5 separate regions of the Homo sapiens genome follow, and regions 1, 2, 3 and 5 are each linked to region 4. The links are contacts of gene promoters, found by promoter capture Hi-C in blood cells and fetal thymus (Javierre and others, 2016). All regions are on one chromosome and are shown on one strand. Each heading gives the region's core, a stretch centred on a gene start or on the middle of the fragment in contact. The rest is flanking DNA. Distances are from core to core; before and after follow the strand shown. Region 1 has its middle 74 kb from the start of SPATA31C2. Region 2 has its middle 3.3 kb from the start of SPATA31C2. Region 3 has its middle 21 kb from the start of SPATA31C2. Region 4 holds the start of NXNL2 (nucleoredoxin like 2). Region 5 has its middle 15 kb from the start of LINC03026.

The links. The method cuts DNA at HindIII sites, captures the fragments that hold promoters and counts their contacts. A CHiCAGO score of 5 or more calls a contact.
Region 1: a fragment that was not itself captured here is called in contact with the fragment with the promoter of NXNL2 in region 4 in 1 of 17 cell types (total CD8 T cells); the score reaches 5.9 in total CD8 T cells.
Region 2: a contact is called between a fragment that was not itself captured here and the fragment with the promoter of NXNL2 in region 4, in 1 of 17 cell types (M0 macrophages). The highest score is 5.4, in M0 macrophages.
Region 3: a contact is called between a fragment that was not itself captured here and the fragment with the promoter of NXNL2 in region 4, in 1 of 17 cell types (M1 macrophages). The highest score is 5.1, in M1 macrophages.
Region 5: a fragment that was not itself captured here is called in contact with the fragment with the promoter of NXNL2 in region 4 in 2 of 17 cell types (M1 macrophages and megakaryocytes); the score reaches 5.6 in M1 macrophages.

The regions. Positions count from the first base shown.
Region 1 is chr9:88,209,929-88,214,765 of GRCh38, reverse strand. No RefSeq gene overlaps it. Among named protein-coding and RNA genes, the nearest start is that of SPATA31C2, 74 kb to the right of the region's middle. The HindIII fragment of the contact is 629 bases long and covers 1,422-2,050 here.
Region 2 is chr9:88,139,220-88,144,304 of GRCh38, reverse strand. No RefSeq gene overlaps it. Among named protein-coding and RNA genes, the nearest start is that of SPATA31C2, 3.3 kb to the right of the region's middle. The HindIII fragment of the contact is 599 bases long and covers 2,431-3,029 here.
Region 3 is chr9:88,156,815-88,161,925 of GRCh38, reverse strand. No RefSeq gene overlaps it. Among named protein-coding and RNA genes, the nearest start is that of SPATA31C2, 21 kb to the right of the region's middle. The HindIII fragment of the contact is 3,267 bases long and covers 583-3,849 here.
Region 4 is chr9:88,533,695-88,538,288 of GRCh38, reverse strand. NXNL2 (nucleoredoxin like 2) reads right to left here and starts at 3,111. Exons shown (of 2, transcript NM_001161625.2): 1 at 2,553-3,111. The coding sequence starts at 2,854. LOC105376134 (a long non-coding RNA gene) reads left to right here and starts at 3,749. Exons shown (of 2, transcript XR_007061653.1): 1 at 3,749-4,275. RefSeq lists enhancers at 1,657-2,490, 2,491-3,325. The HindIII fragment of the contact is 6,313 bases long and covers 1,306-4,594 here.
Region 5 is chr9:88,089,849-88,095,061 of GRCh38, reverse strand. No RefSeq gene overlaps it. Among named protein-coding and RNA genes, the nearest start is that of LINC03026, 15 kb to the right of the region's middle. The HindIII fragment of the contact is 2,637 bases long and covers 346-2,982 here.

The DNA of each region.
Region 1 (4,837 bases), core at 487-2,986, 320 kb after region 4:
CTTCTAGGCATATATCCAAAGGAAATGAAATCTCTACCTGGTAAGGATATCTGCACACCCATGTTGCAGCATTTTTCGCAATGGCCAACGTATGAAAACAACCTAGGTGTCTATTAATGGATGAATGGATAAACTATGGCATAAATAGACAATGGAATATTATTTAGCCTTTAAAAAGGGAGATCTTGGGCTGGGTGCAGTGGCTCATGCCTGTAATCCCGGCACTTTGGGGAGGCCGAGGCAGGTGGATCACGAGGTCAGGAGATCGAGACCATCCTGGCTAACACAGTGAAACCCTGTCTCTACTAAAAGTACAAAAAATTAGCCGGGCATGGTGGTGGGCACCTGTAGTCCCAGCTACTCGAGAGGCTGAGGCAGGAGAATGACTTGAACCCGAGAGGCAGAGCTTGCAGTGAGCCAAGATGGCACCTCTGCACTCCAGCCTGGGCAACAGAGCAACACTCCGTCTCAAAAAAAAAAAAAAAAAAAAAAAAAAGGAGATCTTGGCCGGGTGTAGTGGCTCACACCTGTAATCCCAGCAGTCTGGGAAGCCAAGATGTGAGAATAGCCTGAAGCCAGGAGTTCAAGACCAGGTTGGGCAACATATCTATAAAAAATATATGAGAGCCCCATATCTATAAAAAAAAATAAAAATTAGCTGGGCATGGTGGTGTATGCCTGTAGTCCCATCTACTAGGGAGACTGAGGCAGGAGAATTGCTTGACCCCAGGAGTTCGAGGCTGCAGTAAGTGAAGATCACACCACTGTACTCTAGCCTGGGTGACAGAACAAAACCCTGTCTAAAAACAAAACAAAAACAACAACAAAAAGGAAGATCTGCCATTTGCCACAACATAGGTGGACTTGGAACATATTATACTAAGTGAAATAAGCTAGACACAGAAAGAAAAATATTGCATGATCTCACTTATGTGGGGTCTCTAGAAAAAAAGAGATCAAGTATATAGAGACAGAGAATAAAACAGTGGCTACCAAGGTTGGAGTTGGGGAGGAAATGGAGAGGTTTAGGTCAAAAGATACAAAGTAGCAAATAAATATGTAGAATGAACAAGTGGAAAGGTCTAATGAACAGCATGAAGACTACAGTGAATAATAGGGTATCATATTCAGGATTTTTCCTTAATGGGTAGATTATAGCTGTTTTTGCCACAGGAGGAATTATGGATAACTAAATGAGATGATGGAGATGTTAATTTGTTTCACTATAGTAACCATTTTCTTATATATGTATCTTATAACATCATGTTTGTACACAATAAAATTTATTTAAATAAACAAATTTTGTCAAATACTTTACTGCATCAATTGATAACATCATGTGAATTTTATTCTGTTAATGTGGTGGATTACATTGACTGATTTTTTAATATTGAACCAACCTTGCATTTCTGGAATAAGCTTCATTTAGTTATGGTGTGTAATTCTTCTTAAAAATCACTGAAGCCTATTTGTTAATACTTGTTTAAAGGTTTTTGTGTCTACATGCATGAAGGATATTGATCTGTAAGTTTCTTTTTTTGTAATTCTTTGTCTGGTTTTGGTATTAGTGTGATACTGGTCCCATACAATGAGAAGGGAAATATTTTCTCTTCTTATATGATCTGGAAAAAATTGCTTATTGTTAGCATTGATTCTTCCTTAAACAGAATTATCCAGTGAAACAACTTGACATGGCGATTTCTTTTTCAAAGAAAAACGTTGTTTTAATTTTAGAATTAAAATATCTATACATCTAATTGACGAAGATTGTTACAAAGAATAAGTTCCCTGTGTCTATTCACCCATTTCCCACTCCCACAGAGCAACTCTTGTAAACTTTCTTAGCTAACCTTTTGATATCTTCCTCCATGTCTTCAACAAAAATGCCTATATTGTTACTTATTTGGTTTTGCAGATTAAAAATTTCTCTAAGACTTCCCAATGTGGAAGATGATTTATCTCCTTCCCTCCTTCCCTTTCCTAACCTGACAAGCAATTTCTGTCTTCACTTTCTCCCAATCTAATTAAATAGACATTTTTTTCTTAAGCTTAGTAGTCAGCATTTTTATTAGTTGCACCTTTCCAGCTGAACCATGGACCATATACAATGATGATGGTGACGGTGGTAGTGGTCGTGACAACCACAATAGTTAATACAACCTGGGCAACACAGCAAGACCTTGTTACTACAAAAAAAAAAAAAAAAAATCAGCTGAGTGTGGCAGTGCACACCTGTAGTCCTAGCTACTCAGGAGGCTGAAGCAGGAGAATTGCCTGAGCCCGGGAGGTCAGGGCTGCAGTGAGCTGAGCTCGCACCACTGCACTCCATCCTGGGCAACACAGCCAGACCCAGTCTCTAAAAAAATAAATAAAATAAAAAATAAAGACCGTTAACATTTACATGGGGCTTTCTCTGGGCCAGAAAAAGATCCAAGGACTTTAATTTTCACAAAACTTTCACAAGACTGTTATAATAATCCTGATTTTATATATGAGGACCATGGAGATGAAGTGATTTGCCCAAGGTAATTCAGCCGTTAAGTGGCAAAACCAGAATTTGAACCCCAGGCATTCTGGATCTGTATTCTGTAGGTGTGGCCACTACCCTACAGTTTCTAACAAATTTATGTTTGTTCTTGAGTTAATAATAATCTTTTGTTGGTTGCTTATTTTTCCATATATTTATCACTTACGCATTTCAAGTTCTACTTCAGTCATGAAAAGCTTCTCTCAATGTGTTCAAACACATTAGCACTATTATTGTCTTCTTGAAAAAATATTCTAGAGTTCTGGGCTGTCTGTTCTCCAAGCCTGCTTGTGGCTGGCATCCTGGACTCTTTCTCCTGTCCTGTCCTGAGGACTCCCTTCATCTCTCCTTTGTTTGGAACCCACTGTTTTCTGAATGCTAATCATGTTCTTTGTTGTTTTATTTCCTCATTTTGATCAACAACATCCTCTCAGCTTCCAGAGACAATAGAATAGAAAGTAAATTTTGCAACTTCTTCATGTCTAAATATGTCTTTATTCCATCTTCACATTTAATTCATACTTTGTCTGGGTATTGAAGAATCTATAGGCAATCCGAATGTTGAAGATAATCCTCCATTGTTTTTTAGCTTCTACTGTTGCTGTTGAGAATTTCAAAGCCATTCTGATTCCTACTCTTTGCATTTGACCTGCTTTTCCTCTAAGGAAACTTGGAAAGTCATCTTTCCGTTCCCAGGATTCTGAAGGTCACTAATGATGTGTTTGATGGGGGACAAATCTCATTTAATGTGCTCCCCATTTGGTGGATCCTTTTCATTTGGCAAGTCAAATTCTTCAGTTATGATATATCTTCTTGAATTATTTTTTGATTCCTCCTGCTACCATTTTTTCAGTTCACTCTCAGAAACTCTCTTTATTGGAAGTTGGCCCTTCTGAAGTTGGTCAACTAATTCTTTAAAACCTTAAAAAATAATTAATATCCTCAGAAACAAAACAAAAACCTTAGAAATAAACAATAACAAAGGCGCTGATAATCACAAATTTAAAATATAATATCAGAAAAGTCACACTAGATCCATATATTTGACGACATTAAAATCAAGAACTCCTGTTCATCAAAGCACATCATGAAGAGCTCTTTCACATCCCTTGTAGGTTGGATTCCTAGGTATTTTATTCTCTTTGAAGCAGTTCTGAATGGGAGTTCACTCATGATTTGGCTCTCTGTTTGTATGTTATTGGTGTATAAGAATGCTTGTGATTTTTGCACATTGATTTTGTATCCTGAGACTTTGCTGAAGTTGCTTATCAGCTTAAGGAGATTTTGGGCTGAGACAATGGGGTTTTCTAAATATACAATCATGTCATCTGCAAACAGAGACAATTTGACTTCCTCTTTTCCTAACTGAATACCCTTTATTTCTTTTTCCTGCCTGATTGCCCTGGCCAGAACTTCCAACACTATGTTGAATGGGAGTGGTGAAAGAGGGCATCCCTGTCTTGTCCCAGTTTTCAAAGGGAATGCTTCCAGTTTTTGCCCATTCAGTATGATATTGGCTGTGGGTTTGTCATAAATAGCTCTTATTATTTTGAGATACGTCCCATCAATACCTAATTTATTGAGAGTTTTTAGCATGAAGGGCTGTTGAATTTTGTCAAAGGCCTTTTCTGCATGTATTGAGATAACCATGTGGTTTTTGTCTTTGGTTCTGTTTATATGCTGGATTACGTTTATTGATTTGCATATGTTGAACCAGCCTTGCATCCCATGGATGAAGCCTACTTGGTCATGGTGGATAATCTTTTAGATGTGCTGCTGGATTCAGTTTGCCAGTATTTTATTGAGGATTTTTGCATCAATGTTCATCAGATAAAAGAGGACACAAGCAAATGGAAGAACATTCCATGCTCATGGATAAGAAGAATCAATATAGTGAAAATGGCCATACTGACCAAGGTAATTTATAGATTCATTGCCATCCCCATCAAGCTACCAATGACTTTCTTCACAGAATTGGAAAAAACTCCCTTAAATTTCATATGGAACCAAAAAAGAGCTCACATTGCCAAGTCAATCCTAAGCCAAAAGAACAAAGCTGGAGGCTTCATGCTACCTGACTTGAAACTATACTACAAGGCTACAGTAACCAAAACAGTATGGTACTGGTACTGAAACAAAGATATAGACCAATGGAACAGAACAGAGCCCTCAGAAATAATGCCACACATCTACAACCATCTGATCTTTGACAAACCTGACAAAAACAAGAAATGGGGAAAGGATTCCCTACTTAATAAATAGTGCTGGGAAAACTGGCTAGCCATATGTAGAAAACTGAAACGGGATCCC
Region 2 (5,085 bases), core at 1,481-3,980, 390 kb after region 4:
TAATATCCAGAATTTACAAGAAATTCAAACAACTCTACAAAAATACCTCTAAAGAATCCCATTAAAAAGTGGAAGAAGGACATGAATAGTGAGTTTTCAAATAAGCCATACAAATTGCCCACGGGCATTTGAAAAAAAGTTCAACATCACTAATCATCAGAGAAATGCAAATTAAAACCACAACGAGATACCATCTAACACCAATCAGAATGACTATTAAAATGACAAAAAATAACAGATGTTGGCAAGATGTAGAGAAAGAGAACCCTTATAACACTGTTAGTGCAACTGTAAATTAGTACAACCTCTGTGGAAGACAGAACAGAGATTTCCCAAAGAAACAAAAATAGAACTACTACATGATCCAGCAATCCCACTCCTGGGTATCTACCCAAAAAGAAAGAAAGAATTATATTAAAAAGATAACACGGCCAGGTGCGGTGGCTCACGCCTGTCATCCCAGCACTTTGGGAGGCCAAGGCGGATGGATCACAAGGTCAGGAGATCGAGACCATCCTGGCTAACACGGTGAAACCCCGTCTCTACTAAAATATACAAAAAAATTAGCCAGGTGTGGTGGTGGGCGCCTGTAGTACCAGTTACTCAGGAGGCTGAGGCAGGAGAATGGCGTGAACCCAGGAGGAGGAGCTTGCAGTGAGCAGAGATTGTGCCACTGCACTCCAGCCTGTGTGACAGAGCGAGATTCCGTCTCAAAAAAAAAAAAAAAAGAAAAAGATAACACGGACTCATATGTTTATCACAGCACTATTCACAATGGCAAAGATACAGAATCAACCTAAGTATCCATCAATGGCAGATTGGATAAAGAAAAGGTGGTATTATACACACTTGAATACTACTCAGTCATAAAAAAGAATGACATCATGTCTTTTGCAGCAACAGGGATGGAACTGAGGGTCATTACCCTAAGTGAAACAAGACAAACATAGAAAGACAAATATCACATGTTCTCACTCATAAGTGGAGGCTAAATGAGGTGTACACATGGGCGTAGAGTGCAGAATAATTGACAATGGAGACTCAGAAGGGTGAGAAGGTGGGGAAGGGAATGATGAGAAATTACACAATGGATACAATGTACATTATTTGGGTGACGGATACTTTAAAATTCCTGACTTCACCAGTATGCAATGGATTTATATAACAATATTACACTTGTACCCATAAATTTATATAAATAAAAGTTTTTAATAAAATAAAAATGAATGTGAATATTTATACTTTTATGACCATAGATTTGTTTTTGCTTTTTCTTGTCTGTCATTCTTCTCACTTGTTTCTCTAGATTATTATGATATTTAAACATTATATTCATAAATAAAATTCATGTGTGACATATTACATTACATGGGAATTTCCAAAATGTACCCAAATTATTTGAATTGAGAGAGTTTAATATGTGGAAAATATCATGAAATTATATAGGACTAAAAACTACATCAGCAATATTTAAAATGTCTAATTTTGATCAATAATTGGTCTAAATCAAATGGTTTATAATTATAAAAGGAATGAATTTCACATTAAAATAATCTCTATGCTGAAAATAAGAAAAACTGATTTTTCCACCAATGACTATTTTCAGTGCCACTTACTGGTGAATAAATCAAATTAAATACCTGCCTTCCCCACCTCAAACGATGTATTAAGAACAGATATCCAGGTATTGCTCTACTTTCTATTAGGAATTTGAGTTTAAATTGAATAGAATTCAGAATACAACTTAGCAGAGAAAAGAAAACTGATGTAACAGGACTGAAGAGCTGTGTGGGGACAGAAAGAAGGAAGGAAAGAAGGAAGGAAGGAAAAGGAAGGAAGGAAGGAAGGAAGAGAGGGAGGGAGGGGCGAAGGGAGAGAGGGAGGGAAGAAAGAGGAAATACATAGTTCGAACAGTTAGAACCAAACTCTCAGAACGTTGGTATGCCAAGAGTGTCTGGGGCAGTCTCCTCCTTCTTCCATCCAGGGCCTATCATTGCAGAAAGATTTTTCTTGAGTACTGTCAGTGAAGTCTGCAGGGAAGTCACCCATCCTTTCTTCATTATTTTATTTATTTATTTTTATTTTATTTTATTTTTTATTTTTGAGACAGAGTCTTACTCTGTTACCCAGGCTGGAGTGCAGTGGGGCAATCTCTACTCACTGCAACCTCCACCACCCAGGTTCAACAATTCTCCTGCCTCAGCCTCCCGAGTAGGCGGGATTATAGGCACCCACCACCACACCCAGCTAATGTTTGTATTTTTAGTAGAGATAGGGTTTCACCATGTTGGCCAGGCTGGTCTCAAACTCCTGACCTCAAGTGATCCTCCTGCCTCAGCCTCCCAAAATGCTGGGATTACAAGCATAAGCCACTGCACCTGGACCTTTCTTTGTTACTAATTCTTGTCAGTACCTCCTATCTGCTAAGCTTGGGAGCGTTTCCTAACGTCTAGCTTACATCCTTACTCTTTCAATTCAGGTTGGTTATCACCTTGTGCAAATGAAAATGCTCTCCTGGATTAGATGTCTAATTCATAGTGCCCTACCCCTCCCATCCTCTCTGCACACATCTCCAGCAGCGATCCTCAGGCAGGCAGGACCCAACTGTGTACACTGTACTTGGCCTCCACTGCAGGGTGTAGACCAGACTTCTCTCCCAGGGCTTGAGAACACTGCGGGAAGCTCTCTGGCACCCATGGAACGTGAGGGTGTTACCATCTTACAGGTCATTGGGAAACAGGAGCTGATGGAAACACCAAGATTCCACAGACAGTGGCACTAGGTGCCTGAAACGAGTCACTTGAGAATTCACCCTGTATTACCTTCCCATCCTTTCCTGTTGCAGTCCTCCATTTCTGTTCTCTGGAATTACCTGCATTCCTTTGGCTCAGCCCTTGCTTTTCAGGGGAACCCAACCCAATATGCTCAGCATCAGCACATATTCTTTATCTCAGCTCTTGAAGGCTAGTTATTTAACGTTGTTTGATTTGTGATAAATTAACTCGCCTTTTCACTCCGGAGAGAAAGCTTGTCCTGATAAAATGCTGAGATTACAGGTGTGTGATTGTGCTTTTCTGGTGTCATGTCTAATAATTATTCATCAAGTCCTAGGACCTGAAGAATTTCTCATTAAATTTCATATTTTTACATTGAGATATGTGATCTTTTTTTTTTTTTTTTTTCTTTGAGATGGAGTCTCGCTCTGTCGCCCAGGCTGGAGTGCAGTGGTGCCATCTCGGCTCACTGCAAGCTCCGCCTCCCGGGTTCACGCCATTCTCCTGCCTCAGCCTCCCGAGTAGCTGGGACTACAGGCATCTGCCACCATGCCCGGTTAATTTTTTTGTATTTTTAGCAGAGACTGGGTTTCACCTTGTTAGCCAGGGTGGTCTCGATCTCCTGACCTCGTGATCCTCCCGCCTCAGCCTCCCGAAGTGCTGGGATTACAGGCATGAGCCACCGCGCCCGGCTGATCCTTTTTTTTTTTAATAAAGACATGAGGTTAGATTGAGGTTATTGTTTTGTCTATGGTATCTAACTGCTCCAGAACCACTGTACTATTGAACTGATATTGCACTTTTTTCAAAAGTCAGTTGGTTGTACTTGTATGGAACTATTTCTGAGTTCTCAATTCTGTTTTATTGAACTGTCTGTCCCCCTGCCAATACCACACTGTCTTGATTTCTGTAGCTATGTAAAAAGTTAAAAAATTGGGTAGAATAATTCCTCCCACTTTATTCTTCTATTTCAGACTTGTTTTGTTGAGCTGTATTATAGAAAAAACTATTCGTGACACCTGTTAAAAAATAGTAAGACAAACGTTATTCAGAGGGATTATTGCAATAGATATAGAGATTACTGCAATAGGGTCTTGCAGTAATCTCCAGTTTCCATATATTCAGGTTTCCCTCTGAATAGAAATTTTATAGCCACAGAGCAGGGTGGAGGGGTGGTAGTGTATGGAAAATTACTAATAGGAGGGAATCTGGCTAAACTGACCTCACAGAATTCTTGCTGAAGCCATGCCAGAGTGATCAGATATCACCTGGGGATGGTAGACAATAAGAAAACCAATTAGATACCAATGGTGGTCAGATATGAAGATGGAGGAAGACTCCATCTCAAAAAAAAAAAAAAAGATCACATCTCAATGTAAAAATATGAAATTTAATGAGAAATTCTTCAGGTCCTAGGACTTGATGAATAATTATTAGACATGACACCAGAAAAGCACAATCAATTCTAAGAATTTATTAATTGGATGTTATCAAAATTTAAAACTTTTGCCCTGCATAAGAGCCTGTTAATAAAAAGACAGGGTAAAAACTGGAAGAAAAGTGCAAACCACACCTGATAAACCGTATCTGACAAGGAGCTCATATCTAGAATATTGTTTAAAGTTTTCAAAAGTCAACAACGACAACAAGAAAAAACAAGCCAATTAGAAAATGGGCTAAAGGCATGAACCGATATTTCACTGAACAGGATATATTGATGGAAAATGAGAAAATAAAATAACTTTCATCAGAGGAATGCCAGTCCTTTTAAATTATCAAGCCCAGAGAGACATTAAAATAAGACAGCAGGCCCGGCACGGTGGCTCACGCCTGTAATCCCAGCACTTTGGGAGGCCAAGGCGGGCGGATCACAAGGTCAGGAGAACAAGACCATCCTGGCCAACACGGTGAAACCCAGTCTCTACCAAAAATACAAAAAATTAGCCGGGCGTGGTAGCACATGCCTGTAGTCCCAGCTACTCGGGAGGCTGAGGCAGGAGAATGGCATGAACCCAGGAGGCACAGGTTGCCGTGAGCCAAGAGCGTGCCACTGCACTCCAGCCTGGGCAACAGAGTGAGACTCCATCTCAAAAAGAAAGGAAAACTGCAGGTCCTGCACATGTACCCCGGAACTTAAAATAAAATTACATAAGTACATAAATAGAATTTTTAAAAAATCTTAATTGTATGTGGGTAGGTCCCTTTGATTGAAAGTGAGATAGAAGGATGGGCGCAGTGGCTCATGCCTGTAATCCCAGCACTTTGGGAGGCAGAGGCGGGCAGATCACAAGGTCCGGAGATCGAGGCCATC
Region 3 (5,111 bases), core at 967-3,466, 380 kb after region 4:
AAAATAATAAGACTTGATTCCGATATCTCCTCCTCCACCATGGCAGAGCCTGCCAGCTGTCCAACAAAACCCCATTTTCTCTGCTTCCTGGGCACATAGCTCAACATTCCTACCCCCCCACAACCTCCCCCACCCCCTGCCAATGCAGATAGGTGGCCAGTAGTGACTTAGTAGCAGAAGTGATTGTGCTATTTGGGGCCTAGTGTTAAGAAAGCTGCAGTCCAGTCCCCTCTCCAGACTCTTTTTTTTTTTTGTAGTGGGTGCTGAGGTCCTTAGGCTTGTTTTCAGGGTTTCTTCCTCTCCATGTTGTTTTTTTTTCTGTTCTGACTCAGATCCAAGGTTCTTTACCCCCTTGTATTCTTCTAGCATCTCTTCATGTCCCTTGGGAGGAGCCAGGGATAGAAGAGGAAGCACCTTGTTATGTTAGGTATAGCTTTCTTCATATTATCAGACATAAGAGCAGGCATTGAAAGAGATGCTAAAATGTGTATCATTGCACAAGACTTCCTGGGCAATTTGAATGGCGATAATGTACCTTCCGAGAAAAGGTCTCAAGTCCCAAGTATTTATCACGTCAAAGCTTTAATCTCCCTAGTGCCATATTGTTCTGCTCAGCGGGAGACTTCTAGGCTAAAAATACAAAGTCAAAGCAAAAAGGATTAGGGGAGAGGGCAAGCAATTACCTAAGCATCTGGTACTGTATAGGAAAATGTTAAAATGGATCGTTCAGGGGAAGGAAAGTATTCCTGTAACCTCACCCAAATGACTACGAATTTCTGCTTCATTTTAGCATTTGCATGTTTGTGTTCGTTTTTCTTGTCCCCCACGTTCCTATGGGGCTGGTCTGGAGCATCCAGATGACACCGGCACATAAAGTAAGTTGTACGAGAAGAATATGAACATGAGAAATCCATCGCTTTAATAGCAAGCAGCAAACAAGCCTCCTCTTTGTCCAGAGAGAGACATTACCCCATCCCTCAAGGTTGCCTGCTGCGAACAGCCCTGAGAAAAGACGCAGATAAAGCGTGATCGGGGTTTGGCATTTGTGGAAATCAGAGTAACCGGCAGTGGTGTGAGAGACCCAGGAGGGCTATCTTTCCTCAACAGGGAGGAAGTGGAGGTGGCAAGAAAAGCATTTTTAAATGGAAAAGTGAAGAGGCTGTGGGAGCAGGATGGTCACTCAGTACTGGTGGAGGCCCCAGGTGCAGCTTTTGAGGCAATGTGGCAGTGACTCCAACTGGTCTACCAGGCCTGACCTTTACCTGACAATGTCTAGTCATTGAGGGAGGGAGGGAGAGAGACGGGAGGGAGAAGATATAAGAACAATTTGGAAGAGTAGAAAGGAAATAAAGTGAATCTGAGGTGTTTGCAAAGGAGGCAGAATAATGTTTAGGGAGACACAAGATTATGGGAAGAGTGGCTAGGGTTTGCTTCTTGGATGTGAGTTATTCGGCAGAAAGTTCTGTCAGGGCATGGGAGAAAGTCAGGAGAGAGACGAGCAACAGCAGAGCTGAGGATACCAGTTGGCAAGGAAGGTATCTGTGCAGGTCCCCATGGCAGGGCAAAGACTTCCGTAATCATATGCACTAGAGGCTGAGGTAGAAAATGCCTGGGAACATGGCCCATGTGCCAGCCCACAATAGGTCACACACAGAAGCAAAGAGGAGCAGGGGCTGGAGGGAGCTGGGGCTGGGGAAATTCTGTGCAGGATGGAACCTGTAGGAGAAACGAGGGAGTCCCAGGGCCACCCAGTGACCTACACAGAGGAGCCAGCATTGGATGCTGCTGAGTCTGGAGATCTCAGGCTAAGGAAGGGGACCACAGACACGTGCCTGATTGCAGGAGCCCACAGGCCCTCCCTGCCCTCTGCTAATGAGCAATGGGCCCTTTCATACACCAGGAGGAAGGAGGAGAAGAACCAAGAGTGGGAGAAGACTCCCTCAGGAGCATCAAGAATGGGGGGAAAGTGATTAGGTTTGGCAGAAAAGCTCTCTGAAGGAGACAGCATTTTAAAACTCAAAGTGACTAAAGAACCAAAATGAAGCTAAAATATAAAATTGATTCCTCTTAGCAGAGAGAGAGACAAGAAAATTTCATTTTCTAAACACATCTTGACTTTATATTTTTAATTTTACTGTTCATACCTCTTTCACCCAGTGGTAGAAGGTGACACAGGCCCATGTAATCACAGTCCCCTCATCCCAGAGCAGAGGCAGCCCAGACAGGGGCTTTCCTCCCACAGTGGGACAGGTAGAGGTCCCTTTGGCAGCGCAGAGAAAAATAGGCAAGGGGCACACTGCCCTGCAGAACCTGATGCCTCCAGATCCCCTTTCACCTGCACGGACGATGAAAGCTGGCACCAGGTGGCTGAGAGCAAATGAGGAAAATGCTCTCGTCGCAAGTGCTGGTATTTCCCACCGACACCCAGTGTACCGGGGAAGTGCACTCCACCAGCTCGGACCAAGGGAAGGACACGGGCAAGAACAGCACCGCGGAGGTTTCGAAAACTCTACTGTCATTAGAACCACAGACCACAGGCCGGGCGTGGTGCCTCAAGCCTGTAATCCCAGCACTTTGGGAGGCTGAGGTGGGCAGATCACCTGAGGTCAGGAGTTTGAGACCAGCCTGACCAACATGGAGAAACTCTGTCTCTACTAAAAATACAAAATTAGCCAGGTGTGGTGGCACATGCCTGTAATCCCAGCTACTCGGGAGGCTGAGGCAGGAGAATAACTTGAACCTGGGAGGTGGAAGTTGCAGTGAGCCAAGATCATGCCATTGCACTCCAGCCTAGGCAATGAGAGTGAAACTCTGTCTCAAAAAAAAACAAAAAACAAAAACAAAAACAAACAAACAAAACACAAAAGAACCATAGCCCACAAAAGCAGGAATAGGACCTATGCACTAAACTTAAACAGGGTGACTGACTGCTAGGAAAGGAGATTTAAGTAGAATCTAAAGTCATAATGTGCAAATGTTTAGGATACAATCAAAATTCACTTGTCATACCAAGAACCAGGAAATTGAAAATGGAATGAGAAGAAACAATCAACAGACACCATACCAGGGTGAATCAAGGTTGGAACTATCTCACAAAAATTTTAAAGTAGCCATCTTACAAAAATCATTCAAAAGAGCAATTACAAATATACTTTGCAAATGAAAAAAAAATTAGGTCTCGCTAAAGAAGTAAAAGATGTAAAAAGGAACCAAATGAAAACTATAGAAATGAAAAGTACAATAGTTGAAAAAAAGAGACTTATTGGATGGGTGCAGTGGCAGAATGAATATGACAGAAGAAAGAAATCAATGAACCTGAAGATAAAACAATAAAAATTACTCAATCTGAACAACAGAGAGAAAAAGACTTAAAAAAAAAAAAAGAACAGAGTTTTCAGGACCTGTGAGACTATAACAAAAGATCTAACATTCATAAGCAGACAAAGAGAATAGGGCTGAACAAGTATGCAAAGAAATAATGGGCCAGGCACAATGGCTCATGCCTGTAATCCCAGCAGTTTGGGAGGCCAAGGCAGGCAGATTACCTGAGGTCAGGAGTTCAAGACCTACCTGGCCAACATGGTGATAACCCTGTCTCTACTAAAAATACAGAAATTAGCTGGGCGTGGTGGCATGTGCCTGTAGTCCTAGCTACTTGGGAGGCTGAGTCAGGAGGATCGCTTGAGCTTGGGAGGCAGAGGTTGCAGTGAACCGAGATTGCACCACTGCACTCCAGCCTGGTAATAGAGAGAGACTCCATCTCAAAAAAAAAAAAAAAAAAAAGAAACAGAGAGAGAGAGAAAGAAATAATTGGTGAAGACTTTCTAAACATGGCAAAAGAACTAAGCTTATAGATTAAATTACCTAAGTGAACCCTAAATAAGATAAACCCAAGAAAACTCATGCCAAAACACATCATAATTAAATGAAAGGCAAAGAAAAAATATCCTGAAAAGAGTCATCTGGAGCCATGATACTACAAGGAAGTGGAAACAATTTTTCAAGTTCTGGAAGAAAAAACTATTCATTGTGAGTTGTATGTTTGGTGAAAGTATCCTTCAGGAATGAGGAGGAAATAAAGACACATTCAGATGAAGGTAAAATAAGAGAATGTGTGGCTAGCAGACTGACTCTTAAAGAATGGCTAAAGAAAATTCTCTAAACAGAAAGGAAATGACAACAGAAGAAGACTTGGAAATCAGTAAGGAAAGAATAACAGAATGGACAAAAATAGGAGTAAATAGACGATCTTCCTTGTGAGTTTCTAAATCATATTTCATGGGTGAAACAAAAAATATAACACCATCTGATGGGGTGTTTAATGTATGTAGAGGAAATACTTAAGACAGTTAAACTTAAAAACTGGGCAAGATAAAAGAAACTAAGGAGGAGTAAGGTGTCTACAGTTCACCTGAAGTGGTAACACTTTGTGTGACAGTAGACTGTCACAATTTATGTATAAATACTGTAATGCCTAGAGAAACCACTAAGAAAACTATCCAGAGCAGTATACTAAAAAATCACATACATATTTATATATCTCATTAAAATAAAGAAAATGTTGGCTGGGCGTGGCTGGGTGTGGTGGCTTACACCTGTAATCCCAGCTCTTTGGGAGGCAAGGGGGGCAGATCACCTGAGCTCAGGAGTTCCAGACCAGCCTGGCCAACATGGTGAAATCCCGTCTCTAATTTTAAAAAATACAGAAATTAGCCAGGTGTGGTGGTGGGCGCCTATAATCCAGCTACTCGGGAGGCCAAGACGCAAGAATCACTTGAACCTGGCAGGGCAGAAGTTGCAGTGAGCTGAGACAGTGCCACTGCACTCCAGCCTAAGCGACAGAGTGAGACTCTGTCTGAAAAAAAAAAAAAAAGTTAAAGAGAAACAGAGAAATAAGAAACAGAGAGAACAAACAGAAAAAAAAAAGATAGTAAAATAAAGACTTTAGCACTAACATTTTAATAATTACTTCAAATGAAATGATCTAAATACACTAAACAGAGATTGGAACAGTGGGTTAAAAAAAAACACAACCTAACTGTATGTTGCCTACAGGAAACTCAGCTGAAAAGCAATGACATAGGTAGGTTAAAAAAACATGTAAAATGATT
Region 4 (4,594 bases), core at 1,862-4,361:
GCTTTGAGGAATCAGGAGGGTGGAGGTGGTCATTTCACTGATATTCCAAGAGACACTCAGTACCAGCCCTCAAATCCCCATGCTGGCAGCCTCTGCCTGGGGACAAATGTAACCTTGGAGCTGCACATGAGAGGCAAAGAACCTCACTTTTTCCCTAATGTCATCTCAATCCCCTCTGGGCCCTGAGCTGTGTCCACAGAGAAAAGAACTTGCTTTTGGAGGAGAGAATGTTGTCATGGTAATAACTTAGGACTTTAAGCATTTGGGGAAAATCCAAGAGCCCAGTTCCTCCTTGTCCTCAGCACTGTTGCAACCAGCGTTGGTCCCTGCCTTCAACTAACACAGCCACATCCTTGTTGCTGGCATAAACCACACTTCTGGGTTGCCATGGCAACTCCTGACTCTAGTCTGTCATCTCAGCCAGGAGCAGGCTGTGGCCAAGCAAATCTCTCTGCAGAACTGTCTTTTGCTCACTTGCTTCAACTACTCACCAAACACACTCCCTGGGGATGCCAGGCACTGAACCATGTCTGGCTCTGTCCTGTGGGCAATGGAAACTCAGGAAACCCCCGGAGAGTTGGAGCAAGGCATGGCTAAACCGGATTGGTCTTTGAACCAAGAGCCAATCAGATGGGAACACCAAGGTCCTGTAGACGTAGGATAAGCAGAATTTAGGGCGTAGCTCCAACAATTCCCACAGAATATCCCACTACCTAGCTTACACATGACAACAACAGAGTTAAGGAAGTTCAGTGTGGAAAGGGGTAGGGACAAACAGCTAAGTTTACAAAAAGAAAAATCCCTCCCAGGCCAGCCAGGCTGAGAAGATAGGAGCACACAGCTGACCCACGTCACGCAGCTCACTGCCTCCAGCTGGAGCTCACAGGCTTGACCAGAGCATCAGAAACAGACGAGCAGTCTCCATGGCCCCAAGCGATGACCTCCCCAGTCCAATCTGTGTGCCGCTGGGGACCAAGACTCACCACCCCCTCAGTGAGGAAGTAGGGCACGGCAGAAAGAGGGTCCTCAGAGCCAGGAGAACTGAACTCTATGCCTCAATGGCACATCTGTAAAATGGGGCAATAGACTAGAGAGCTGGGACATAACCAGCGGACACATGAGCTCATATGTGATCAGCTCAACCCTGACAACAACCACGTGATGTATCATATGCTCAGCAATAAAATACCTTGCCTGCCATCACCTGGCAAGTAAATCCCAGAGCTGGGCCAGAGCTTTGTGCCTAATTACTATAATGATACTGCCATCGTCTCTCGCTTTCAAACCTGCGTTCTTTCAAAAGCTTACAAATAACTTGAGTACTAAACAAGTCCAATCCTGTTTTTAAAAGCACCACTTGAACTGATTCTGTAAGAAATCCTTTTGCAAAGTGAACCACCCATCTTGGAGATTCATTATCAATAGAACTTTCAGAGTCCCGGTGTGAGTGAGGCTCCCAGAAGCAGGTTACCCCCCTGGAAGGCTGGGCGGTGCCCTGCCTGGGCCTCCTCTTTCACTGGGAATCACCAAAAATCATGTTTGGGGGAATAATTAGATTTCTTCCCATTAATTACTCATCTACAAAACTTTCCAAAGTTAGCTTCCAGTTTTCATTTTCCAGAAGGAATGTCATCTCATGATAATCAGTTTAGGGGGTAATGCCACAACTTAATGATAATCTCCAGAAATGTGAGGCTGTAAAGCAAAACCCAGAAATTCACATTGGTACCTAGAAGGGGGTGGCCAGGACAACATACTTGACGAGGCCTGCTTTAAACCTAAGTCTGGACTCTTACACCATAGGAGACCACAGGAGACCCACCCCAAAAGCAGAACAATCAATCCCTGTAATCCCCTCTCTGCCAATCCCTACCCCCTCCTTTGCAACAGTTAGAGTAATAAAGTTTATAGTAATGAGTTTTATGCTTCTCTAGTGATGAAATTCCATCAGTGTCGGTAAAAATGAAACCGCAAAGGTGGCCAGCACCTGGGTTCCTGCCAGCCTTGAAGCCCCCGTCCCTCCCTCCCAGCAAACCAACCACGGCCTGCACTGTGGGTGCCTGTCACAGAGCTGATGTCCTCGCGGGTCATCCCTCATCCCCGCATCCAGACACCGGGTCATGTCCCTGTGCTTCCTGCCCACTAACTGGGAGGATGACGCAGCGGCGCCGGGAGTCCAGGGCTGATTGGGCCGGCGGTTCCCGGAGCCGAGCCCGCGAACTCACAGCATCACCACCACTGGGAGCTCCTTCGCAATGCAGATTCCCGGAGCTCCAGACCCCAGGCAGAAACGCGCCCGCGTCCATGCTCCACGAGCCCCCTTGGGGTGCCGATGCCCTGGGTTTTCGAATCTGGTCTGCACCCTCCCTGGTCTCCAAGAGAGGTTGAAACTGAGACTGAGTGTGATTTACCGGAGTCCGGACGTGAACCGAGAGACGGGGAGGTGTTGGGGGGGGGCGTCATAAAGAGCTCCCCAGTGCAGAGGGGGAGGCCTGGGGGAACATGGGGGAGACGTGCCGGGCGGCCCCCGCCCCCCCAGGACCCCCACTCACTGCCGGTAGGGGTCGTGGAAGGGCAGCGCCAGCCAGGCGCCATGCAGCTCGCGCATGAAGTCCAGCATCTCCTGGGAGCTGCCGTCGGCTGACACGAAGACCACTTCGAAGGGCGCGGGCCGCCGCGCCTCGGCCACCAGCGCCGTATAGAAGTCGCAGAGCAGCGGCGTGAAGTCGCGGCTCGGCGCGCACCGGGCCGCCGCGAAGTACAGTGCCACCACCTTGTTCTGCAGCGCCGCCTCGGCCTCCACCGTCGCGCCCTTACAGGTCACCAGGTGCCGCTCGCCCAGAATGTCAACCATGGCGCAGACACGCAGCCACCTGAGACCCGAGGACACCTGCAGGAGGATGATCACCTGCGGGGAGGCGGCGGCGAGCGCCGCGGTGCCCCGCCTCTGTCCGCACCACCGGGCGCTGGACCTCTCAAGACCTGCCCCAGATGCGCCCACACCTTGGCCAGGCCTCGCCTGTGGCTGGAGCAATTGTGTTCGCGCCGACAATGAGACACTCAGACACCAGAGACCCCAGATACCTGGGCGACAGCGCGGCACCCGCCTCTGGGAGCGGGGCCAGCCAGGCAACCTCAAGCCCTCAGGTCTCTGCACCCTCCCCCAACTGCGCCCCGCCCACACTCCTGCGCCCTCCCACCACTGCGCCCCGCCCACATTCCCCGCAAGCTCCCCAACTGCGCCCCGCCCACATTCCGCACTCTCCACCCACTGCGCCCCGCCCACATCCCGCACTCTCCACCCACTGCGCCCCGCCCACATCCCCGCCCCCGCCCCCACTGCGCCTCGCCCGCATCCCCACACTGTCCCCCACTGCGCTGGGCCCACATCCCTACACTCTCCACCCACTGCGCCCCGCCCACATCTCCGCACCCTCCCCCACCGCACCCCGCCCACATCCCCGCACTCTCCTCCAACTGCGCCTCGCCCACATTCCACAGTTTCCCCTCACTGCGCCCCGCCCACATCCCCGCACTCTTCTCCAACTGCGCCTCGCCCACATTCCACAGTTTCCCCTCACTGCGCCCCGCGCACACTCCCGCTCCCTCCCCCACTGCGCCCCGCCCACACTCCCGCGCCCTCCCCCTCACTGCGGCCCGCCGACATCCCGCGCCCCCGCCCCCATCCCGACTGCGCCCCGCCCACCTCCCGCGCCCTCTCCCACTGGTTGTCCAGCCCACATCCTGCACTCCCTCCACTGCGCCCCGCTCACACTCCCGCACCCTCCCCACACTGCGCCCTGCCCACACTCCTGCACTCTCTCCCCACTACGCCCCCTACCACATCCCGCGCCCCCGCCCCCATCCCCACTGCGCCCCGCCCACACTCCCGCGCCCTCGCGCCCCTGGGCTCTCCCGTCGTGGGCACTCTCCCCAGCGCTTCTACACTTTCTCCCGACGCAGCGCCCTGCCCTCCGTCCCGCCCCACCTATTGCCTCCTGCGCTTCCCCCACACCGTGCTCTTCCTCCTCCTTCACTTCCTCCCACTCCTCGCGCTCCCCTTCAGCGCCCCACGCAGCCCCTCCCCCAAAACCCCGCGTCGCTCTCCTTCCCTCCTGGCCTCTCTTCCAGTCTCGCGCTCCCTGCCGGGCCCCGCCGCAGGTGTCCCGCAGCCGTCTCCCCAGGGCATTTGAATCTTGCCTTGGAGCTCTTGCCGCGCGGCCCAGCACCCTGGAAGAGGCATCAGGGAGGATGGGACGACGAGGAAGGGGAAGGGTAATTGGGCTTGGAGCGGGCTTGGGCGGGGTGGTAGGGAACCTGAGCTCCGTTGGTTCAGGGTGTTTGCCCCTGACATCCTGTGGCCTGGCTGGGAGGGTTCGTGAAGTTCAGGAAGAAATTGGGAGCAGTCCTTACAGAATGTTTTATTTGAAGAACCAAGAGTATTAATTTTTTGGCGAGCACTGTTGTAGGCCCTGGGAATTCAGCAGTGAGAAAAATAATTTCAACTCCCTGCCAGACCCGGGCTAGAAGGAGGCAAGCGAGCGAGGCACTCGCATAGGGGCAAAATTTAAGGGCGCGACAAAAAAACTCAGTA
Region 5 (5,213 bases), core at 415-2,914, 440 kb after region 4:
GCTGCACCAGCTGCCTGTCTCCTGGGGGTCAAATTTGAAGACATATATCTCCTTCAGAATTACAAACCAAAAAGGAAACATTTATTATAACAAGAAGACCCCCATTCCCTTTGATAAAGTTGTCATATATTTTATTGAAAATTATCAAAATTATAGTTTAATGCATTTCAAGGTGCTAGTAGCAATATCACAAGATTCTTGGCATGAATGAACACATGAGCGCAGTCATCTCATAGCTCTATCAAGATAAGCTGTGGTGTCAGTCATGACACAGGAGCAAAGAGCTTGCTCAAATAATGATCAGAGTTCCTGCCACTTCCCAGCTCTCTATTTGTCTACAAAGCTTCTTTTTTTCATTAAATTTTTAACATTTTGTACAAAACAGTTATTCCAGGCACTTTTCTTTCAAAATGATTTCATTACCCATTTCCTTCTTTTAAAATATGCCAAATTGGGGGCCAGGCGTGGTGGCTCATGCCTGTAATCTCAGCACTTTGGGAGGCCGAGACAGGCCAATCACTTGAGCTCAGGGGTTCGAGACCAGCCTGGGCAACATGGCGAAGCTCCATCTTCACTAAAAATACAAAAAATTAGCCTAGCATGGTGATTTGTGCCTGTTGTCCCAGCTACTCGGGAGGCTGAGGTGAGAGAATCAATCACCTGATTGATTATATATTGATTATATATATATAATATATATATACCAAATTGAGAAACTACAGCTCTCTCATTCCTTAAGGTGTAATGCTGAGTGTTTTATTAGAAAATTTGATTACGTTAGGGGAAAAATAATCCCACTAGACAAGGCTCTGACCAAACTGCATTCAAGGTGCTACCTTCAGCTCCAGATGCTGGGTCTTCAGTGGGGGCTACATCAGGTGCACCCTTGGTAGAGAGCTGCCCTCAAGCACAGGAACCTGGAGCCAGGATGTCTCAATGTGGTCAAAAAGACCAAGGCTATTAAGGCTAGAGAATAAAAGACTTCAATATTTGCTTTTCGTTATTCAAGAATGCATCACAGAGAATTAAGTGTCTTCTTCAACTTCACTCTTGGCCTCAGGGATGAGACTAAAAAGTAGAAACAGGAGAAGGGAACTAATATTTCTCATGCATCTTCAGTGCACCTGGAAATGCTCTCAGGCAGTCCTCCCATAATTGGCCCCATTTTACAGAAGAAGAAGTTGAGGCACAAGAGGATTAAGAATTCACATTCTCGGCCGGGCACGGTGGCTCACGCCTGTAATCCCGGCACTTTGGGAGGCTGAGGTGGGTGGATCGCAAGGTCAGGAGTTCAAGACCAGCCTGGCCAAGATGGTGAAACCCCACGTCTACTAAAAATACAAAAAAAAAAAAAAAAAAATTAGCTCGGTATGGTGGTGGGCGCCTGCAATCTCAGCTACTCGGGAGGCTGAGGCAGAGAATTGCTTGAACCTGGGAGGTGGAGGTTGCAGTGAGCCGAGATCACACCACTGTACTCTAGCCTTGGCGACAGAGCAAGACTCCGTCTCAAAAAAAAAAAAATTCACATTTTTTGCCTGTGAATTAGTTACACAGTCACCTAATGGCAAGATGTATCTTCGAGGAAGAGGAAATAGATACCCCCAACCCACAGGGAAGTCAGGGCAGGGTCTCACACCTGGAGGAGTCCTGGTCAGATGCTCCCTTTGGAGTTGAGTGAAGGGCAGGTAGATAGAAAGCAAAGAAGACAAACAGCCAGGAGACCAGCCGTGCACAGGCCATGTGCAGGCTAGAGCTGACAGAGACCTGGGCCAGGCCAGAGGCAATCAGACGGCAGAGAAACGGGGCTCCAGAGGGGCCCAGGAGGCGAGTCTGTACAGCGGCTGCCTCATGGGTCAGAGTGTGAGATGGTGCCCAGGTCACATGTCTGCTGTGCAACAGACAAACACAGCTGTAGAGGGCTGCAGCAGAGAACAGTTTCGTCATCACTAGTGCTCAGTGAGGAAAGGGGGGTAGTTCTCAAGCCTCTCATTTCATTGAGGGGTTCTGGGCAAAGGTTTTTAAGGGGATTTGTGGAGGTGAGGGGCTGGGAAATTTGGATGGTCAGTTGGTCTGGGTGAGGGGATGAAATCATCAGGATGTGGAAACTGCATTCCTTCCTGAGCCAGCTTCCTCCTGGGCCCTCCACACCAGCTGGTGTCTGTCGCTGAGCAGAACCTGAAGAAGCAGCTCGAACAGAAAGCTGATGGCCTCACAGCGCCTCAGACTTTATCCACAGAACGGCAACCCAGAAGCGGGCCAAAGGGCAAGCCGACCTAAAGATGGCTGTTTCAAGCCTAGTTGGATTTTATTTTCTTTTTTCTTAATTGATTTTACAAAATTGCGGAGGGGTGGGGGGGGCGTGGGGGGAGTGCGGGAGGCAGTTTCAATATGAGGAATACAGAAGAGAAAAAGAGATCTCCTGATCATCAGGAAGTTCATGTAAGATAGCCCATCCCAGACTACTGATCAGAAATCAAACAGGAGCTAGCCACAAACAGAGATCATTGGAACCGAAGAAAATAGATTTTTAATCAAAATTTCTATTTTTCAATTGTCTGGCTTTGTTGAGAGGAAATGTCCTCAGCACTGGGGCCCTTTCTCTAAGTCATCTAGCTGTGTGGGCATCTGCTTACTGTTAGTGACAGCACTAAAACGATTAGTAATAATTTATTGGTCATAATCATCGACAGTTTACAGCAGAAGGCAGCAAACTACAGTCCACCACCTCTTTTATGCCACCTATAAGCTAGAAATAGTTTTTTTTACATTTTTTAATGCCTGGGGGGGCAGGACAGTGGGGAGAAGAAGAATATTTAGTGACATGTGAAAAGTATGTGAAGTTCAAGTTTTAGTGACTGTAATAAATGTCCAAAATAAAGTTTTATTGGAACACAGCCATGCTCGTTCATTCAGGACTGGTCTAGGGCTGTTTTCCCACTGTAATAACAAGGTTGAGTAGTTGTGATAGAGGTTTGCAAAGCTTAAAATATTTACTATCTGGCCTTTCATGGAAAAAATTTGCTGACCTGTGATTGAGAGAATAAAGTATGTGTGTGTGTTTAATTCATTCCTTGCTTACTATTTGAAATGGCTGACTACAAAAACATGCTTAAATTTATCAAAGACATTTAGAAAAGAGAGAGAGAAATCAGAACCACACAAAGTGGCTTTTCCAGAGAAGGTATTTGTGAAATAAATGACAACATGAGCAAATTCCCAAAACTGATTAGAATTTCATACCCTTCAAAGAAAAGAGAATTTTAGATATGCTTTGAGATTTAGAAAACAGGCTCATATTTATAATATGTTTAACACAGAAAAACTGGACAGAAGAATCAAAATGGTAACTAAAATGGAAAGGTTTCCATTCATATCATATTAATGGAGTTGTGATTGTCCACTTAGCTGATAGCTAAACAACGTTTGCGTGGGGCGAGGTGAGGTTCACATGACAACCTCTTGTAGCAAATGTGAAAATTACAATGGGCATCCTCATAATCTGGAAACCTAACAGTCTCCATGGCTGGTAAGCCCTTTGTGCCTGATATACCCTGGGCACTCTTCTAAGCACCTGGCAGGCATTATCTCAGGAGGATTCAATTTTGAATTAGTGACTCATTTTTAGATCACGCTACTAATTTATTTCTTGGATTTTTTTTTTTTTTTTTGAGACAGAGTCTCTCTCTGTCACCCAGGTAGGAGTGCAGTGGCGCGATCTCAGCTCACTGCAAGCTCCACCTCCCGGGTTCACTCCATTCTCCTGTCTCAGCCTCCCCAGCTGGGACTACAGGTGCATGCCGCCATGCCCGGCTAATTTTTTTGTATTTTTAGTAGAGACGGGGTTTCACCGTGTTAGTCAGGATGGTCTCGATCTCCTGACCTTGTGATCCGCCCACCTCAGCCTCCCAAAGTGCTGGGATTACAGGCATGAGCCACCGTGACTAGCCTATTTCTTGGATTGTTTTAAAGGGTTTGGGTTTGTTTGTTTGTTTTTTAGACAGAGTCTCCCTCTTTTTTGCCCAGGCTGGAGTGCAATGGCGTGATACTGGCGCAGTGCAACCTCAGCCTCCCGGGTTCAAGCGATTCTGCTGCCTCAGCCTCCCTAGTAGCTGGGACTACAGGTGCCTGCCACCACGCCTGGATATTTTTTGTATTTTTAGTAGAGATGGGGTTTCACAATGTTGGCCAGGCTGTTCTCAAACTCCTGACCTCAAGTGATCTGCCTGCCTCAGCCTCCCACAGTGCTGGGATTACAGGCGTGAGCCACCATGTCCAGCCAAGGGTTTGAGTTTTTTAAAAAAAATTTAAACAGAGGAATCGATATGGAATGGTAACAATGTAAAATACATAGAGCCTGTCAAAGTCAAAATATAAATGTAGACCCAAATATCTAAATTTAATGTTTCATTTGGGAAGAGAGAATCACAATTCGGGGCATACACACAGAACAGGTGGTCTCTGGTACGCTCCGCAATGTTACGTATTGTTCTTTGAGAAAGTTCATTGACACTGGGAAGCTCCTGGAGAGCTGGCAAGCTCTGATTGTTGAGCAATGGCAATGGGAAAAATTAGTCCTAGAGTTGCAGCAAGTTATCTCAGAAGCTAGAGATAAAACTGGTTTCAGATTTCAACAAGCAGTTCCAGCAGCGAGACTCGCAAAGGATGACACCCTGGGAGCAATGTTTTGGTCCCTGAGCGCTTTTCCCACAGCCCTGTCCCACACCCCCCTGCCCTCCAACCACTGGCTTCTCGCTTCTTATCTCTGCTTTAGTTTGGTAGGACAAGAATGACCCAGTTGGGATGATCAACCCTCACAGGCCTAAGGACAATGTTGACATAACAGCCAGAGCATTCCTCCTGGTCTATGGGAGGCCCTGAACACCATTTTGATGGGGATAGATTGGTTTTAAATGCAGGCAAGGAGGCAATAAAAACACTCTGGATTTTCACGATGGGCTTCTGAAGTCTCGATGCTGCTCCCTGACTCGGCACCCCACAGCAGGTGAGGGCTGCTGGCAGGCAGGCAAAGCGGTTTAGGATTCCTGGTTTCTCCAGTGACTTACCTTTAATGCTTTTTACTAAAGTATAAGCTTGATGCTTCTCAAGGAGCCTGTGACCCCAGTCCTCTCCCTGCACAGTCATCTTTTCTTACCCGGATTTTCTGTCACTACGCAGTGCGTCCCCTCCTTCGTGCAGACTCCCACAGTGGGAGG